Regions from separate parts of the Homo sapiens genome. Here region 2 is linked to region 1. The links are contacts of gene promoters, found by promoter capture Hi-C in blood cells and fetal thymus (Javierre and others, 2016). All regions are on one chromosome and are shown on one strand. Each heading gives the region's core, a stretch centred on a gene start or on the middle of the fragment in contact. The rest is flanking DNA. Distances are from core to core; before and after follow the strand shown. Region 1 holds the start of SNN (stannin). Region 2 overlaps LOC105371082 (a long non-coding RNA gene).

Evidence for each region. Contacts are between HindIII fragments. The CHiCAGO score rates a contact against its expected background, and 5 or more counts as called.
Region 2: a contact is called between a fragment that was not itself captured here and the fragment with the promoter of SNN in region 1, in 2 of 17 cell types (M0 macrophages and monocytes). The highest score is 5.9, in M0 macrophages.

The regions. Positions count from the first base shown.
Region 1 is chr16:11,666,183-11,673,532 of GRCh38, forward strand. SNN (stannin) reads left to right here and starts at 2,273. Exons shown (of 2, transcript NM_003498.6): 1 at 2,273-2,358. RefSeq lists silencers at 1,946-2,365, 6,855-6,924 and enhancers at 3,473-3,572, 6,497-7,316. The HindIII fragment of the contact is 10,329 bases long and covers 1-4,836 here.
Region 2 is chr16:11,365,623-11,372,214 of GRCh38, forward strand. All of the region lies in intron 1 of LOC105371082 (a long non-coding RNA gene), which reads left to right. It overlaps LOC400499 (putative uncharacterized protein LOC400499), which reads right to left. Exons shown (of 67, transcript NM_001370704.1): 67 at 6,393-6,592. Among named protein-coding and RNA genes, the nearest start is that of RMI2, 23 kb to the left of the region's middle. RefSeq lists enhancers at 4,858-4,917, 5,103-5,603. The HindIII fragment of the contact is 1,153 bases long and covers 3,835-4,987 here.

The DNA.
Region 1 (7,350 bases), core at 1,023-3,522:
TGTTGCCAGTCCTGGCTCTGGGGTTCTTAGCCTGCCCCTCCCAGGTCCTCACCACTAATGAAGTCTCTGCCAACTTGAGGCGGGGACCACAAAGGCTGCTGGAACTGGCTTTGTGGGAAGAACCTATTTCCTTCCATTCTGGGCTCCTAGGTGTGGCTGATGGGGCAGGATTTGGGCAGATGTGGGGGCGGAGCTGTTCTGAGATGCCCGGCTTTGGCCTGTGGGGCAGCTGGCTGAAGCTGGGCTCTCCTCTGCCTTTCTGTCCTCCCTTCCTGCGCAACTCCCAGCTCACCTCCTGTGCCTGGCTTCCTGACTAGGCTGCCGCTGAACCCGCCCTGGAGTTCTGCAGTCCGATCATTCATTCATTCAACATCCATGTATTCAGCACCCACTGTGTGGCAGGCACTGTTCTGTAGACACAGCAGTGAGTGCAATACACCTAGTCCTGGGAGAGAAGACCAAAAGTTCATCACACAATGTCAAAAATGTACAATTTCACAATGGGTAGGCTGGGCATGGTGGCTCAAGCCTATAATCCCAGCACTTTGGGAGGCCGGGGCAGGAGGATCACCCAGGAGTTTGAGACCAGCTCAGGCAACAACAAGAGACCCTATCTCTACAAAAAATTAAAAAATTAGCCGGGCATGGTGGCATGCACCTGTAGTCTCAGCTACCTGGGAGGCTGAGGTAGGAGGATCGCTTGAGCCCAGGTTACAGTGACCTATGATTGCACCACTGTACTCCAGCCTGGGCGACAGAGCAAGACCTTCTCTCTAAAAAAAAGAAAAAAAATTGCTTCGTCAAATCTGCCCACATTCATAGATATAGGCTGAGTGGGACGATGGCTTGAGCCCAGGAAGGAGTTGGATGGAGGCTGTAGTGAGCTGTGATTGCACCACTGTACTCCAGCCTGAGTGACAGACCAAGACCCCGTCTCAAAAACAAAACAAAAAACCCCAAGGGAGCTACTCTTGGCTGGGCGATCAGGGAGGGCCCTCCTGAGGAAGGGGCACTTAAGCTGAGATCGGGAAGATGAAGTAGAAGAGTTCCAGCTGCAGGGAGCCACATAGGCAAAGGCCTGGCGGTGGGAAAGGCTTGGTGCACTGGGCGCAGGGAAGAAAGCCCAGCGAGGCTGAGTGGAGGGAGTGAGGGCCTGGCCACCTCAGCCTCGTGAGCCCAACCCGCCATGCTCTTCCAGAGGCTTCTGCTTGAGAATGGGAAAGAAGTTTCCAGCAAATAAGGCCCCCGTTCCCAGGAGGAGGTCCCAGCTCGCCCTGCCCCCTCCTGTCTTCTCAAGTCCCCTGGGCCACAGAAGCCTTGAGGGACCCACCCTCACCCCTTCTGTGGGCCCCAGGGCTGGGGTGTCCTCTCGCCGATGGCCTTCTTGGGGTGGATGAGTGGAGATTACTCCAATAACTGGAGCCTCTGTCTTCCCAGGTAGACAGGCCTGGCCTCAAAACCCTCTCTCCATCAGGAGCAGGCTGTGGGACTTCAGCTCTTTGGAGCCTCAGGTTCCTCATCTGTAAAATGGGAAGATTCTTTCTTCCGGAGTCATCTTAATAAAATGTGTTGGGCTGTTTATACAGGGCAGGCATTTGGTGGGGGCCAAACCACCGGGTAATTATGCTAAAAATAACTATGATTATAGGTGGCAGAGGGGTGCAAATGCCTCACAGCCTCATCCCGCAGAGGAATGAGAGCTTCGTCAGGGCCGGGACCTTGTCTGGCTCGTGGCTGCTCCCACGACGACTGGCGTGGCAGGCACGTGGTCAGTGTTCCGCCATCGACTGACTGGGCGGATGAATGATACATAAATGAATTCGCGAACGACTGATGCCCAGCTTCCTCCCGAAGCAAGGTCATTCACCTCAGCGGTCGCGCCTCTCCCCTGCCCCTGCCCCGGATTCCCCGCCGCTCTCAGCTCTCGAGGAGTATGCAGCACTCTTCCGTGCAGCGTGCCTCAGTTTCCTCCGCTGTAAGCAGGCGGGACCAAGGCAGCCTGCCGGGGTCAGGATGAGGCTGGCAGAGGAAGGGCGCCTGTAGTGGGGCCCCGTACCCACGGGCGCCCAATCCGCGCTCGCCAGGGCCGAGCCCGCCCGCCGCGCGCAGCCCCCGCCCCACCGCCTGCCGGCCCCGAGCACACGTGACTCCGCCCCGGCCCGCCCCGCCCCGCCGTCCCAGCGCGGGCTCCCATTGGCCTTTCTGGGAGGCCCCGTCCCCAGCCGGGGAGGAGCCGGGCCCCGCCCGCCGCAGCGCGGGGCTCCTGCGTCCCGAGTGCGCGGCGGCCGGACCGGGCGGGCGGAGCCGGGCCCGCGGGGCTGCTGCGGGGCGATCGGGCCGGGCCGCTGCCGCGCCATGGTGAGCCGGGCGGGGCAGGCCGCGCGCTCGGGCCGGGCGGGGGCGCCGGGGCCCGGGGGCGGGAAGGGGGAGGCCAGGACGAGGAGGGGCGCGCGCGGCGGCGGGGCCGGGCCGGGGTCTGCGGGCGGGGGAGGGGCGGCCCGGCGGGCGCGGCTCGGGGGAGGGTCCGTTCCAGGGGCCGCGCCCGCGGGCTGGGGTTCTTTGTCAGCGGCGCTGCGGCGAGATCCGGACAAAGGAGGCGGCGGGGGGCGGAGGCCGCTTTGTGGGGATCGCGGGGCGCTCGCCCCCGCCCGTGCAGCCCCCGCCCGTCCTCAGCTACGCTCCCGCCTTCCCCCGGCATTTCGGGGTTCTTCAAAATTCTGGGAGCTCCGGGGAGGGCTCCGGGGATAGGGGTCCAGGTGACGTCCGGCGCCCGTCTCGCGGGTAGGGAAACTGAGGCCGGGCCGCAGCGTTCGGCGCCCGGTTCCGTGGGCAGCGGCTGCGCGGCGTGGGCATGCCTAGCTCCCCTGGTCCCCGTCCCACACCCCGCCTCCGTCGGGCCGATTCGAGCTACCTCCCCAGCTGCCGTCCCCTCTCCAGCTGTCGCCCCCTGGGCCGAGCCCCCTCCTCCCTGGAGCCTCGCTTTGCTCCTCCGTGGAGTGGGGGAGACGCCGGCGCCGCCGGGCAGGGTGGAACGGGAGGGTGCGCGGAGCGCGCCTGGCACCGCGCCTGCCACGCCGCCCGCGCTCAGCACTCGGGAGCCGCCGGGGCGCTGTCACCCCTAAGTCCCCAGCACCCAGCCCAGGTCGCCCAGCCCGCCCCAGCGAGGGCCACACTGGGGTTCACCTGTCCGCGGCCCCTCAGGCACGCGGGAGAGGAGGTAGGGAGAATGTGGCATTTTAGAGTCAGGGTCGAAATGCGGGATTTTGGATGCAGGTTGCCTGGGTTTGAATCCCTGCGCGTCTACTTTTGAGCTGTGTGACCTTGGGCAATGGACTTAACTTCTCTGAGCCACCAATTTCTGTATCTGCCAAGAGGGAACAGTAATAGCTCAACTGCCCTGTTGTCTTGAGGCAGAAAGGAGACATCTGCGTGAGCTGTTTATCTCAGTGTCTGGCACATATAATTGCCACCAACTTTCTCCGGCATCTACAAGCAAAGTTGTTTGGCCAAACAGGCCAACCCTGGGGCAGCCTGTGAAAATGACCAGCGGGTGATTCACAGGGTGGGGGCATGAGCCTCTGGCCTGGCCCGAGGAAGACCCCGACTGACCTTGGGGCAGTCCCGGTTCAGAGCTCTGCGGGCTCCCGCTTCCTCTTTTGCCACTGGGGAACCTAGGGGATTCTGGAGCGAGTTTCCTCTTCTGAGGATGGGGGTGTCATGGGTGGGGGTGGAGGATGAGATAACACTGGCCAGAGAGCTGGGCACAGCCCCATCAGTGTCAGTCCCACTGGCATCCGGCCGTTCTTGGTCCTGGCTTCTGGAGGGCTGGGGCCTTGTGTGATGCGTCCTTGTGTCCCACTGGCTGCTGGAGGCCCAGGGCAGAACGGACGTCCCGCCTCGTCCTGGCTGTGTCCAGCAGTGCCCTCTTCTCCCTACAACCCTGTTTTCCCAGTCAGAACCTGGGGCAGGAAACGTTTCTGGTTTGTGACCCGGGGTTCGCTGAAGAGTTTGTTGGCACCCTTGGCAGGTGGCTTTATGGGGGGAGGCAGTACTGAAAGCCCCGTAGGGATGGCTGGTCCCCTGTAAGCAGGGCAGCCCTCCTGGCGTCTGTCAAGGAGCCTCAGGAGGTGGCGGCTGCAAGGCGGGGGTGTTTTGCTGGTGGTGAGCCCGGCAATGCTCATGATGTGCCCGGTTGAGTTAGGAGGAGGCAGCGTGTCCCTGGGGAAGGGGTGTTTGTGGCACTGGGCCTGGGCCAGGCTCTGTGCCCTTCTGGCCCTGGGGGTGGGCTTGGGGATCCCTCGGGCTCAGTGTTCTCCCTTTGTCCCTGCTGTAGCACACAGGAAGGTGTGGCTGGTGACATGCAAACCTGGTGACCTCATGTCCCTTTTGTTTTCACTTTTCTTACCACTTCTCATCCTCCCCACGACCTGGTAGATGAGGTCAGGGACTCGTATCCGCTTTGCGCATTGAGAAACTGAGGCCAAGAGGAGCAGCTTGCTTGGCTGGGCGGAAGCAGGCCGCAAAAGTGAGTGCTGGTCTGGGAGGATGGAGGGGACTCCAGCCTGCTCTACTGCGGTCTGTGGGCCCCCCGGGCCTAGAGCACATGGAGTGGCCTCTGGAGTGGGATCAGGCTCAGACAAGCCGGGGTCCTGGGAGGGAGAGCAGGACAGGAGGATACCCGTCCCCTCTCTGGTAGCTGGGGCAGGGACTGTCCATTTGAATGGCTCTGACGGGGTGGGGTTCACCCCCGGCTCTGCCCCCATGCTCCTTGGGTCCCAGTTACGGATCTCTGTGGGCCTTGGCAAACCCGGCAGGACAGTGTCAGTAACACCTGCAAGCTTGGGCTGCTGGGGAGGAGTGGCCAAGGGCGGTGCAGGCCCCCGCTCACCTGGCATGGCTCAGGCTTGTCTTGCAGTTGTTATTCCTTGGGACATGTGTGGGCTCTGCCGGGAGACAGAGTGTGTCCTGTGCTGCAGTTGACCTCCTTTGGGGTTGTTTGAGGATGCTGGGGCAGGGGGTTCTGGAGAGCCTGGGCCTTGGATCTTGCTTTTATAGTGGGTGGGTGGGATCCGAGAGTCAGGACCCCCTTGGCAGAGGATGGCAAGACTGAAGGCACATGGAGCAGGAGGGTGTGTGTTTGGGGGATCCAGATGGCCTTGGGCTTCAAATGCCAGGCAGAGGGGACACTCCAGCCTGCCCAGAGATGGAAGGCCCAGGCTGTGCTCTGGGTCCTGGCCCCTCTGCACTTGGAAGACCCCTTGGCTCTGCTGGGCTCCCCTCTGGGCTCCCATCCTGCCTTCTGGCTTTTTGCTTCACCTCCCTGCGTGCGCCTCAGTTTCCTCACCTGCCAGATGGAGATGCTAGGGTGAACAAAGGTGGCTGCAGCCTTTCTGGATCAGATGCTGGTGGGAATGAATGTGAGCTGCTGTCATGATGGTTGTTGGGTGGGCCAGGATTCCCATGTGCCAGCCTGGGCATCTCCCCAACCCAAGCTGTGGCCCGTCCCTGTCCCCTGCATCCTGTGGGCTTTACTGGATCAGGGCGAGGGGTTACCCAGCTTGCAAGACACAGCTTTGCTCAGAGGGGCTAGAAAGGAAGAACAGACAGGTGGGGTCCAGCCAGGCACAGGGGCTTGTGGGGACCTGCTGCCCTCCGCGCTTTGAGTTTCCCGGGGCTCTGCTTGGCCACCCCCTTCCCTCCCTGCCTGCCAGCAAGCATGGAGCCAGCTGCCCTTCCATGGGCTCAGGCCTGCCCTAATCCACTGGCACTCGCCGTTCTGTCCCCACACTAGGCCTGCAGCCTTCTCCCATGCAGTCTGCCGGCTTTTTTGAGTCTGTTGGGACAGAACATGGGGACCTGTGCTCAGGGTTCTGGGAGTGCCCTGAGTGTCAGGGACCCCCCCACCTATGATCCCCCTGAGAACAGGGTCTCCTCTAACTCATCACTGTATCTGCAGGGAGGGAACACTCAACAGACCATTCACTGAGCACCTACTGTGTACCCGTGCAGGGCAGGGGTACAGCTGTGGGCGGGACAGACGGTGCCCTCCTTGGACTGCCTTGGAGTCCAGTGCGGGGAGTGAGACAGCAGCCAGGGGACAGCCCCTGAGCCTAGAGAAGGGCAGGTAGCAAGGAGAGCAAATGAAGTAGGGCAAGGCTGTAGTGGTGGGGTGTGGGAGGAGGGGCGCCTGGGTCCAGGGTGGTCTGGGAGGGCAGCCTGCAAGAGGCGCCTTCTGAGAAAGTCCCGAATAGGAAGGTGCCAGCCGTGGGGCGGTCAGGGCAGAGGTGGGAGCGTGGGCTCGCAGCGGAGGGTGTGGGGACGCCTGGGGAGGCAGGGAGCTTGGATTCTCTTTGGTGCTGGGGAGGATTCTGAGTGGGGAGAACGCCATCACATTTTTGCAAAGATCGTTTCTCAGGAAACATTTGCTGAGTGAATGAAGGAACAGATACGCACTCGGGAGGGCCGGACCACAGGCCAGGCGTGACTGTGGCTCAGTCACTGGGCTCTGTGCTCGCGGCGGGGCAGAACCCCACATCTGGCTCTGCCCATGCCTCCTGGCCTGGGTTCAGGGCAGCAGACGGGGTTTTGGGGTCACCACTCCTCTTAGAGAATCCCTTTGAGCTGGGGCCGCCTGTGCCTCAGTTTCCTCATTAGTCCTGGGGCCAGTGGTTGAACTGGGGCCCTTGAACTCAGGTGCCTCCTGGCCTGCCCACCTGGCTTTGCCCCGCCTATCCCAGGTCCTGGTGCCATTGTTTGATTTTCTACTTCCTGTCCCTGAACCACCCCCACCCCCAAACACACACACTTCCCCTTCCGAATTGATACTGACTTGTCTTCCTGTCCAGAAACCCCAGGGGAGGGCAGGCACCCCAGCAGGCCCTGGGAACCAGAGGTGCAGGGGAGAGGGAGGTGGGAGGTGGGAGGCACAGGGCAGGTTGGTGTTCTTCTTGCAGGGAGAGAACACAGAGGTTGGGACGAGTGTAGACAGGCTCACCCAGCCATGGTGGGAAGGCTGTCTGTGGGGTCAGAGGGGTCCCCTGTCCAGTCTGGAGGCGTGAGAGAACAGCTAAGTGGGGTTGTGGAACCGGATGGTGGCAGGGGAGAGGCCAGGGTGGTCTGTACATGCAGGGGACAGAGCAGGGCCACCGTGGAGCTCATGGCCCGCTGGAGGGAGAGGTGGGCGCTAATCAGGTGGCCATGCTCCAGAAGCCAGGGTTGCATGCCAAGGCCACTGCTCCGGAGGGAAGGAGCCCGGCCGGGTTGGGAAAGCTTCCCTGCCAGAGCTGGTATTAACCGGGTCAGGGTGTCTTTCTCCAGCCGGGCCATCTGCGTGGTGGGGGCTGCCCTGTG
Region 2 (6,592 bases), core at 3,161-5,660, 300 kb before region 1:
CCCCCTCAGCTCTTGCAATCATGAATGTACTTTCTGTCTATATGAATTTGTCTGTTTTGGACATTTCCTTCCAATGTAATCATACAATATGTAGCATTTCGTGTCTGGCTTCTGGCACTCAGCATGGTGGGTTTTTAAAATTTTTGTTGTTGTTTTGAGACAGAGTCTCACTCTTTCGCCCATGCTGGAGGGCAGAGGCACGATCTCGGCTCACTGCAACCTCTGCCGCCCTGGTTCAAGTGATTCTTCTGCCTCAGTCTCCCAAGTAGCTAGGATTACAAGTACCTGCCACCATGCCCAGCTGATTTTTGTATTTTTAGTAGAAATGGGGTTTCACCATGTTGGCCAGGCTGGTCTTGAACTCCTGGCCTGCAGTGATCCACCCGCCTCAGCCTTCCAAAGTGCTGGGATTACAGGTGTGAGCCACCATGCCTGGCTCAGCATGGTGTTTTCAATATCCATTCATGTTGTGGCCTGTATCAGTACTTCATCCCTTATTATGACTGATTCCTTTTTATGACATAATATTCCATCATATGGATAGACCACATTTGGTTTATCCACTCATTGGTGGATGGACTTTCGGTTGTTTTTCCTAATTTTTGGCAAAAGGGACTTGTTGACACCTAATGGAACTGCAGGAGTCCCAAAGCTGGGCCTTGGTTTTAGGAAAGACTTAACCAGAAGTTAGGGAAAGGACAGCACAGTATTTGATGTTCCTCATGAAAAATGCCATTTTCTCAGGTGGCAGTTGTTATTGATAGAGATGAGGTCTCACTATGTTGTCCAGGATGGTCTCAAGCTCCTGAGCTCAAGTGATCTGCCCACCTTGGCCTCCCAAAGTGGTGAGCCACTGTACCAACCCCATTTTCTGCATTTTTAATTGTTCCATCAAAAAAGTAGGAAGCCGACATATTATCTGTTTATCTGATGTTAATAGAGTTTTATAATTAATGTTTACATAGATATCTTTTTTCATCCTGTGTTTTCATCTTACCTGCTTTTCTATGTACAGTGTGCCTCTTCTACACATTATGTAGGTGAGTCATGTTTTTGTTTGTGTTTTTTTAAATTTAGTCTCACTATCTCACTTTCACTTGGAGTGTTTATTTCACTTACTTTCGTTCAATGGAACTTCTCTCTGTTTTTTTTTTTTTTTTTTTTTTTAGAGACGGAGTCTCGCTCTGTCGCCCAGGCTGGAGTGCAGTGGCGCAATCTCGGCTCACTGCAAGCTCTGCCTCCCGGGCTCACGCCATTCTCCTGCCTCAATTTCCCAAGTAGCCAGGACTACAGGCGCCTGCCAGCATGCCTGGCTAATTTTTTGTATTTTTTAGTAGATGGGGTTTCACCGTATTAGCCAGGATGTTCTCTATCTCCTGACCTCGTGATCCGCCCGCCTCGGCCTCCCAGAGTGCTGGGATTACAGGCGTGAGCCACTGTGCCCAGCCCAATGGAATTTCTAATGTATGCTGTTTGTGTTTTTTGTTGTTGTTTTTCTTTTAGACACAGTCTTGCTTTGTTGCCCAGGCTGGAGTGTGCAGTGGCATGATCTGTGTGCAGTGGCTCACTGCATCCTCCGCACCCCTCCCCCCGCCCTGGGTTCAAGCGATTCTCCTGCCTTAGCCTCCCGAGTAGCTGGGATCACAGGTGCACGCCAGTGCGCCCAGCTAATTTTTTTTTTTTTTTTTGTATTTTTCATAGGGAGCCAGCGCACCCACCTATTTCTCTTTGTCTCTTGTTCCTCCTTTCTTGCCTTCTTTTGGATTAATGGAGTGATTCTTCACATTTCCTTTTATCTCTGTTGACTTCTGGCTATATCTTTTTGCTCTATGTTTTTAGCTATATATGTTTTCTTTAGCGATTGTTCTAGGGATTACAACACACACCCTAACTTTTCACAGTGCACCTACGGTGCTTATGACACCACTTGGGCAATAAGGCAGTAAAAAGGAATGAAGCACAGACATGGGCCACACATGGGTGAGCCTCGAACTTTATGCCAAGTCCAAGCAGCCAGTCACAAAGGGCCACGTATTGTATGATTCCATTTATGTGAAATGTCCACACATGGGTGAGCCTCGAACTTTATGCCAAGTCCAAGCAGCCAATCACAAAGGGCCACGTATTGTATGATTCCATTTATGTGAAATGTCCAGAATGAGAAAATCCAGAGAGAGAGAGGGAGCAGATTACTGGTCACCTGGTGCTGGGGAGGAAGGAAGAACTGGGAGGGGGGATGACTAAGGATAACAGGGTTCCTTGTTGGGGAAATGAAAATGTTCTAAAATCAATTGAATTGTGGTGATGGATGCACCGTTATGTAAGTATACCAAAAGCCACTGATTTTGACACTTTATTTTTTATCTCTGTCTATCTATCTATCTAGGAGACAGTCTCCGTCTGTTGCCCAGGCTGGAGTGCAGTGGCATGATCTTGGCTCACTGCAACCTCTGCCTCCCAGGTTCAAGCTATTCTCCTGGCTCAGCCTCTTGAGTAGCTGGGATTACAGGTGTGTGTGACCATGCCTGGCTAATTTTTGTTTGTTTCAGATGGAGTCTTGCTCTGTCGCCCAGGCTGCAGTGCAGTGGCACGATCTTGGCTCACTGCAACCTCTGCCTCCTGGGTTCAAGTGATTCTCCTGCCTCAGCCTCCCGAGTAGCTGGGATTACAGGTGCCCACTACCTGTGACACCCAGCTAATTTTTTTTGGACTTTTAGTAGAGATGGGGTTTCACCATGTTGGCTAGGCTCGTCTCGAACTCCTGACCTCAGGTTATCCACCTGCCTTGGCCTACCAAAGTGCTGGGATTACAGGCGTGAGCCACTGTGTCCAGCCCCATAAGGTAGATTTATATTCACCTTTTAAGAAACCGCCAAACTGTGTTTTGGAGTTGCCATGCCGCCACGTTCCCCCCAGCATGTGTGGAGCCTCCATTTCCACACACCCCCTCTTGATATTGATGTGACATCTTTTTAATGTTGAACGTTTCTCGATAACACATGCAGCATGGCCTTCTTTGCATTCAAAGTGTTTCATATCCCTCAGCAGCATTTGAAAGATTTCTTCATATGGATTGTGTGTGTATATTTTTGCACATTTATTTCTGAGAATTTTGTTTTTTGGGAGTGTGCTGTTGCAAATGGGATGTTTTCTTCTGTTAACTTTTCTAACTGCTTGTTTGTACATAGGAGGACTGAGGCCAGCCTTGGTGGCTCACATCTATAATCCTAGCACTTAGGGAGACTGAGGCAGAAGGACTGCTCGAGCCCAGGAGTTTGAGACCAGCCTGGGCATCATAGTAAGACCGCATCTTTATGTTATTTTTTTTTTGAGACAGGGTCTTTCTTTGTCACCCAGGCTAAGTGCAGTAATGCAGTCCCGGTTCACTGCAACCTCCATGTCCTGGGTTCAAGCAATTCTCATGCCTCAGCCTTCTGAGTACCCGGTATTACAGGTGTGTGCCATCACACCCAGCTAATTTTTGTATTATTAGTAGAGGTGGAGTTTTGCCATGTTGGCCAGGCTGGTACCGAACTCCTGGCCTCGAGCAATCCGCCTCTCTCGGCCTCCCAAAGTGCTGGGATTACAGGCGTGAGCTGTGCCCGGCCCCATCTCTATATTTTAAAAATTAAGAAAAAGGAAGGCTGCTTATTATGTTACTTTTGTACCTAACTCCTTAGCAAAATCTGTCTGCCTCATTTTTCAGAGTAAATTATTTTACCTCCTGCTTTTTTCTTAAATGTCTTACTTTCCTCCTTGCCTAGTTTCATCAGCTAGGGCCTCCAAAATAATAGTGGTAACAGAGGGCATTCTTTTGTTGCGAAGGTTAATGGAAGCTTCTGTTGCTTCCATCCCCTATAAATGATGCTGGGCTCTGGCTTGATGGGTGTGTGTCTGGGTGTAATTTCCTTTATCGTGTGTAATTTAAGGAAGTATCCCTCTTTCTAATTTGATGTGTTTTTTTCTAAATTTTGTAGTAAATTTTGTCAAATGCCTTTTCAACATCTACGATGATTATGATTTTTAACATATTAATATGAATGAAATTAGGCTGGGCGCAGTGGCTCACACCTGTAATCCCAGCACTTTGGGAGGCTGAGGCAGGCAGATCACAAGGTCAGGAGGTCAAGACCATCCTGGCTAACATGGTGAAACCCCATCTCTTCTAAAAATACAAAAAAGCTAGTCAGGTGTGGTGGCGGACGCCTGTAGTCCCGGGAGGGTGAGGCAGGAGAACTGAGTGAACCCAGGAAGCGGAGCTTGCAGTGAGCCTAGATCGCACCACTGCACTCCAGCCTGGGCAATAGAGCGAGACTCCATCTCAGGAAAAAAAAAAAAAAAAAAAAAATATGTGTGTATATATATATATATATATATATATATATATATATTTGAAATTAAAAGATGTTCTAATTTTGAGCTATCCTTGTCACACTGTACAATTCTCACTTGGTTTAGGTCACTTTTTTTTTAAGGCCCCAGTGGGGTTTGTTTGGTAATATTTTATTTTGGATTTTCTTACCTTGATTTGTATGTAAACATCTTACCTTGTTTTGTTTTGGAGATAGGGCCTTGCTCTGATGCCCAGGCTGGAGTGCAGTGGTGTGATCATAGTTGATTGTGATTTTGAACTCCTGGGCTCAAGTGATCCTCCTGCCTCAGCCTCCTAGACAGGCATGTGCCACCATGCCTGGCTAATGATTAAATTTTTTTAGAGACAGAGTCTTGCTATGTTGTCCAGGCTGGAGTTCAGTGTATATTGTAGACGTGAATTGGTCTTTCCGCTGGAATCATTCCCTCTCCTATCTGTTTCAAATTCATGCATAAGTACTCCACCCACACCCCCCAGTTGGAAAGTATTGATGTTGTCCAACCTGCCTTGAGAAGGGAGAACTATGTTTCCCTCTTTGTATCTCTGCTGGTGTCCAGTCCACTGCTGTGTTTTTGGTAAATACTTGACCCATAGAATGTGGGAGGCAGGAAGGAAAGCTTCTGCGTTTCCTTTCTGGACCAGAAATCATGGATCCGTTAAGCATATTGAGAAACCAACAGGTCAGGTGGCTGCACACTCTAGTTGCATCTGACTCTGAATTGCTCATGGGCCCCTGAGCACCAGTGATTTGCTTTTCTTTTATTGCAAAAGCAGAAGTGGGGGTTGAGTGAGCTTGGGCAGCCTTGGGAGGCAGGCAGGCCCGCGTCAGTGCCATCCTGGCTGTTTGTAGCTTGTATGACCTTGGGGAAATCCCCTCAACTCTCTGAGCCTTTGTTTCTTCTCTCATTAAGTGGGGATCATCCGTTCCTCATTGGACTATTGTAAGGCCTAAGATCAAACTTTTTTTTTTTTTTTTTTTTTGAGATGGAGCCTTCGCTCTGTCGCCCAGGCTACAGTGCAGTGGCACGATCTCCGCTCACTGCAAGCTCCACCTCCCGTGTTCACGCCATTCTCCTGCCCCAACCTCCCAAGTAGCTGGGACTACAGGAGCCCGCCACCTCACTCGGCTAATTTTTTGTATGTTTAGTAGAGACGGGGTTTCACCGTGTTAGCCAAGATGGTCTCGATTTGCTGACCTCATGATCCACCCACCTTGGCCTCCCAAAGTGCTGGGATTACAGGCGTGACCCACTGTGCCCGACCCAAACTTTTTTTTTTTTTTTTTGAGACGGAGTCTCACTCTGTCGCCAGGCTGGAGTGCAGTGGTGTGATCTTGGCTCACTGCAGTCTCCGCCTCCTGGGTTCAAGCAGTTCTCTGCCTCAGCCTCCTGGGTAGCTGGGATTACAGGCGCCAGCCACCATGCCCGGATTTTTTTTTTTTTTTTTTTTTTTTCCAGTAGAGATGAGGTTTCACCGTGTTGGCCAGGCTGGTCTTGAATTCCTGACCTCATGATCCACCCGCCTCGGCCTCCCAAAGTGCTGGGATTACAGGCGTGAGCCACTGCACCCAGCCCCCAGATCAAACATCTTTCAAGGCACTTGGAGCAGTGCCTGGTCTCCAGGGTCTTTAGGCTGTAACCACAGCAAAGCACTCAAATCACAGCCACTCTCCCTTCTGTCTTCCCTCCAGTGTGGGGGTGTGGAGGACCAACCTTCTTGTTCCCATTCACCCTGGAGTTCTTTCTTCTGAACTTCATCTAGCACCTGCTATGCACCAGGGATTCATGGGGGGGATGGTGGGGCGGAGGTCAAGGACGGTCAAGTCTGGCCTTCAGCTTGCCTCAGTCCCCGTGGCTGATGCCTTGCCCTTTGCTCTGGAATCTGGGCCCTACAAGCTCCTACCAGGCTCAGTGCAGAGAGGGCTCGAGGGCACCCCCTATCGGTGAGCAGATTCCATAGCTGCCCACGCCTCCCCCTCTCTTGAGTGGATGATCAACCCCAGCAATCTAGAGACATGTTCTTGGATTCTGCCAGCTTTATTTTTCAGTTGAAAACTCAAAGGAAAAAGTTACATTCCCAAAAGAAAGTAAAACACTTCCAATGATGTAGCCTGGAGGCCTGAGTTCACAGGTGCCCCTACCAAAACAGAGGCCCTCCCCAGGGTCCCCTGAAGCATTCAGTCCCAGTGTGTCTACCCCAAAGAGAGAAGCTGCCTACCTG